Linked DNA regions of Homo sapiens: region 1 is linked to region 2. Evidence: promoter capture Hi-C in 16 types of primary human blood cells and fetal thymus (Javierre and others, 2016). All regions are on one chromosome and are shown on one strand. Each heading gives the region's core, a stretch centred on a gene start or on the middle of the fragment in contact. The rest is flanking DNA. Distances are from core to core; before and after follow the strand shown.

What was found. Contacts are between HindIII fragments. The CHiCAGO score rates a contact against its expected background, and 5 or more counts as called.
Region 1: a contact is called between a fragment that was not itself captured here and the fragment with the promoter of SLAMF6 in region 2, in 10 of 17 cell types (activated CD4 T cells, total CD8 T cells, total CD4 T cells and 7 more). The highest score is 17.6, in activated CD4 T cells.

What each region holds. Positions count from the first base shown.
Region 1 is chr1:160,603,760-160,606,459 of GRCh38, forward strand. No RefSeq gene overlaps it. Among named protein-coding and RNA genes, the nearest start is that of CD84, 26 kb to the left of the region's middle. The HindIII fragment of the contact is 1,383 bases long and covers 718-2,100 here.
Region 2 is chr1:160,521,875-160,524,619 of GRCh38, forward strand. It overlaps SLAMF6 (SLAM family member 6), which reads right to left and starts at 1,381. Exons shown (of 8, transcript NM_001184714.2): 1 at 1,270-1,381. The coding sequence starts at 1,318. RefSeq lists an enhancer at 1,166-1,215. The HindIII fragment of the contact is 3,138 bases long and covers 1,010-2,745 here.

The DNA.
Region 1 (2,700 bases), core at 159-2,658, 82 kb after region 2:
TATTTTCTGTCTTGATGCTTTCTAGTTCTGTCAGTGCAGTATTGAAGCCCCCCACTATTATTGTGTTCCTATTTCATTTCTTACATCTAGCAGTGATTGTCTTATAAATTTGGGAACTCCAGTGTTAGATGCATATATATTTAGGATTGTAATATTTTCCTGCTGGACTAGTCCTTTTATTGTTATGGATTGTCCCTCTTTGTCTTTTAAAACTATTCTTGCTTTAAAGTCTGTTTGGTCTGATATAAGAATAGTTACTCCTGCTCAGTTTTGTGTCCATTTGAATGCAATATATTTTTCCACCCCTTTACCTTAAGTTTATGTTAGTCCTTATGTGTTAGGCAAGTCTCTTAAAGACAGCAGATACTTGGTTGGTGAATTCTTATTCATTCTGACACTCTGGATCTTGTAAGTGGAGCATTTAGGCCATTTACTTTTAATGTCAGTATTGAGATATGAGGTACTATTCTATTCATTGTGCTAGTTGTTGCCTGAATTGCTTGGTTTTTTTTTTCATTGTGTTATTGTTTCATAGGTCCTGTGAGATTTATGTTTTAAGAAGGTTCTATTTTGGTGTATTTTGAGGTTTTGTTTCAAGATTTAGAATTCCTTTTAGCAGTTCTTATAGTGCTGACTTTGTAGTGGCAAATTCTCTTGGTAGTGATACATTCAGCATTTGCTTGTCTGAAAAAGACTTTATCTTCCCTTCATATATGAAGCTTAGTTTTGCCAGATACAAAATTCTTGGCTGATAATTATTCTTTTAAGGAGGCTAAAGTAAGGATAATTACTTAGTTTAAGGATATGAAAGATAGGACCCCAATCCCTTCTAGCTTGTAGGATTTCTGCTGAGGAATCTGCTGTTAATCTTATAGGTTTTCCTTTATAGGATACCTGATGCTTTTGCCTCACAGCTCTTAAGATTCATTCCTTCATCTTGACTTTAGATAACCTGATGGTTTAGATTACCTAAACCTGTGTGTTTAGGTAATTATCTTTTTGCAATGAATTTCCTGGGTGTTCTTTGAGTTCCTCAGGAACACAAATTATTCTTAGGTTTGGTCATTTAACATAATCCCAAATTGGCTGGAGGCTTTGTTCATTAAAAAAAACTTTTTTCTTTGTCTGTGTTAGATTGGATTAATTCAATAGCATTGTCTTTGAGCTCTGAGGTTCTTTCTTCTACTTGTTCCATTCTATTGTTAAAACTTTTCAGTGTATTTTGCATTTCTCTAAGCATGTCTTTTATTTCCAGAAGTTCTTATTGTTTTTTATTTATAATATCTATTTCTTTACAGTGTTTTTGTCCATATCTTGTATTATTTTAAAAATTTCTTTAAGTTGGTTTTCACCTTTCTCTGGTGCCTACTTGAGTAGCTTAATAATCAACCTTCTGAATTCTTTTTCTGGCAATTCAGAGATTTCTTCTTGGTTTGAATCCATTACTGGTGAGCTAGTGTGATCTTTTGGTGGTGTGATAGAACTTTGTTTAATTATATTGCCAGAATTGTTTTTCTGGTTCTTTCTCATTTGGGTCAATTATGTCAGAGGAAAGGTCTAGGACTCAAGGGCTGCTGTTCAGATTCTTTTGTCCCACAGGGTGATCCTTTGATGTGGTGCTCTCCCCTTTCCCCTACAGATGGGGCTTCCCAAGAGCTGAACTGCAGTGATTGTTATTGCTTTTCTGGGTCTAGCCACCTAGTGGACCTACCAGGCTCCAGGCTGGTACTGGGGAGTGTCTGCAAAGAGTCCTGTGTTGTGATCTATTTTCAGGTCTCTCAACCACGGATACGAGCACCTACTCCAGTGAAGGTAGCAGGGCAGTGAAGTGGATTCTGTGAGAGTCCTTGGTTGTAGTTTTGTTTAGTGCACAGGTTTTCTCAAATGCTGGTTATGCTAACAGTGAAGTTGTCACATGGACAGACTCAGGACCTCTGGTTAGCCAGGACGTTACAAGTGGTGGAATTAGCTGTTGTTTTCTCCTTCCTTGGAGCAGGGCTATTTTGTTATGAGTTGCTATAATGGCTTGACTTGATTGGCCTCCAGCCAGAAGGTGGCGATTTCAAGAGAGCATCAGCTGCAGCAGTACGGGGGAATACAAGCTTGCCCTAAGGTCACCTGGATAAGTATTTGGGTTTCTCAGGTGATGGGAGGGCCATAGGGCTCCCACAAGATTATGTCTTTTGTCTTCAGCTACCAGGGCTGGCAGAAAAAGACCATCAGGTGGGGGCAGAGTTGAGCATGTCTGAGCTCAGACTATCCTTGGACAGGGCTTGCTGTGGCAACTGTGCGGTATGGGGGTGTGGTTCTCAGGCCAATGGAGTTATGTTCCCAGGGGGATTATGGCTGCCTCTGCTGCTTTGTACAGGTAGCCAGGGAAGTGGGGGAAAGCCAGTGGTGACAGGCCTCTCCCCACTCCCACACAGCCAGCAAGGCCAGTCTCACTCCTGCCATGCTCCCCAAAGAGCCAAATTTATATCCAAGCCTCTGGTATGCAGGGCTGGGATGTTGCCCTGGGATACTAGCCTCTCTGCTGAGAAGGCAAGCAGGGCTTTCAGGCCTCACCCCTCCCTGCCTGCTGTGGCTTCTGTGCTCATATCTGCACTTTCTATTCATCTCCACAGATCCTGACCAGGACAATTCGTACTCAGTCAAAATTATTACAAAGTTCAGCTGGAAGTTTCCTTCTCCCTGTGGCCC
Region 2 (2,745 bases), core at 131-2,630:
TGATTTATTTCTTCCTACCCAATACACTATTTTACTTGTTTATCTTTTTTTACAGTTTGTCTCCTGCTAAAATGTTAACTCCATGAGGGCAGGAATTTTTGCTTGCTTTGTTCATGATGTATTCATGCAAACTAGAAGAGTGCCAAGCATTCAGTAGGTGCTCAATGAATATTTATTCCTTTCTCATTCCAATTACCAATTACTCTACTTAACTCCATATTGATGGGATCTCTTGCTTCAGTCTCTTCTTTCTCTTATGCTGCTGCCACACTTGTTGAACTGTTATTTTTTCTCATAACTATTACAAGAGCTTGTCGCATGCTGGCTAATGAAATTTGGGCAAATTATTTAAATTAAGTTCACCTCAGTTCTTCATTTTAAAATGGAGATATTAATAGTATAAATTCATAGAATTCTCATGAGACTCATAACGTGTGTACAGCACCTGGCACAATACTTGAAATACAATAAGTGCTCAGTGAATGCTTCCTACTTTTATCTGCTACCCTGGGCTAGCTCTGGACTAGATTTCCATTGGTCTCCTGGACTATCTCTGCCTGAATGCTACACTTTGTCTCCCGTGGACCACTTGTAGTTCCCCAAATGTGATATGAATCTTCATCTTCTCCATATAATGGACAGCAGGAAACAAGAAGCCAGCTGGATCAGTTCATTCTTTTCTCACTGCCATATATAATGCATTGCTGGACTAGCTAGCCCTAATTTGCACTAAAGGAGGGGAGAGATGGAAACCTTTTTTTTTGCAATGAGCAAAAGGTGAGAGGGTTATTTTTGGTGTGTTTGGTTGGGCCCAGAAAATTTGGCTCAACTGAATAATAGGTTTTTAATAATTTAGATGAGGATAGTGAGGTTCAGGAAGGATAAGTAACCTCCCTGAGGTTCACAGTACGATAGTAGATACATTGGTATGAGGGCCCATTTTCTTGGTCTTGGTACTCTTTATAACACAAGATGCTGGTCATAAACCACAAACAGTCTTGTCTTCAAAAGCTTATTTCCTCTGCCCCAGCAAATAACTTTCTTACATGCAGACACAATTGAAATTGTTCACCGACAACCATCTCAGGCTTATCGCATCCAAAGTTGAGAGGAGGTAGTAGTATATCAGGTAACACTGCCAGCGTCCCCTTTCCCGCCCCAATCCCTTGGCAGAGAGCCAGACAACTGTATACAGACGATTTAGGTTGAGCAAGCTGCACAAAACCAGGGAGTCACTCAGTGACTACACCGATCTGGATTGACATTTACCTGGGCCAAAGCAGAAGACAAACAGGAGCGATTGGAACAGCCACAACATGCTTTCCGCGGTGAAGACTGGTGCTTGAGACCTTGAGGCAGTCAATGTTTTTGCCCTTCTGTCATAAACTGAAAATACTTCTGAGACTTCCCCTTCCTCTTAGAGGCGTGGTGACAACTTCTTCCCCTGCACTAAAAATCCTAATTTGTAACTGTGTTAATTTTTTGTTTACTTTTTTCTGAGCTAAGTGCACAAATTTTTTTTTTTTTTGGAAAAGAAGATAAAGTCCTTTATTGCATCTTTCATAAACTTATATGTAAAAGTCTGTAAGGAATTTCCTAAAATCTACTAGAACAAATAAATGAGTTCAGCAAGGTGAAAAGATACAAAATCAAAATATAAAATTCAATTGCAATTGTATATACTAGCTATGAGTAATCCAAAAATAAAATTCAAAAAACAATTCCACTCTAATTACATTAGAAAAAAATATTTAAGTATAAAGCTAAGAAAAAGCCAAAAGAAAACTGATTTTTTAAAATTATACTTTAAGTTCTAGGGTACATGTGCACAATGTGCAGGTTTGTTACATATGTATACATATGCCATGTTGGTGTGCTGCACCTATTAACTTGTCATCTACATTAGATATTTCTCCTAATGCTATCCCTCCCCTTGCCCCCCACCCCGTGACATACCCCAGTGTATGATGTTCCCCTACCTGTGTCCATGTGTTCTCATTGTTCAGTTCCCACCTATGAGTGAGAACATGCGTTGTTTGGCTTTCTGTTCTTGTGTTAGTTTGCTGAGAATGATGGTTTCCAGCTTCATCCATGTCCCTGCAAAGGACATGAACTCATCCTTTTTTATGGCTGCATGGTATTCCATGGTATATATATGCCACATTTTCTTTATCCAGTGTATCATTGATGGGCATTTGGGTTGGTTCCAAGTCTTTGCTATTGTGAACAGTGCTGCAATAAACATAAGTGTGCATGTGTCTTTATAGCAGCATGATTTATAATCCTTTGGGTATATAACCAGTAATGGGATTGCTGGGTCAAATGGTATTTCTAGTTCTAGATCCTTGAGGAATCGCCACACTGTATTCCACAATGGTTGAACTAGTTTACACTCCCACCAACAGTGTGAAAACATTCCCATTTCTCTACATCCTCTCCAGCATCTGTTGTTTCCTGATTTTTTAATGATTGCCATTCTAACTGGCATGAGATGGTATCTCATTGTAGTTTTGATTTGCATTTCTCTAATGACCAGTGATGATGAGCTTTTTTCATATGTTTCTTGGCCGCATAAATGTCTTCTTTTGAGAAGTGTCTTCATATCCTTTGCCCACTTTTTGTTGGGGTTTTTTTTTTTTTCTTGTAAATTTGTTTGAGTTCTTTGTAGATTCTGGATATTAGCCTTTTGTCAAATGGATAGACTGCAAAAATTTTCTCCCATTCTGTAGGTTCCCTGTTCACTCT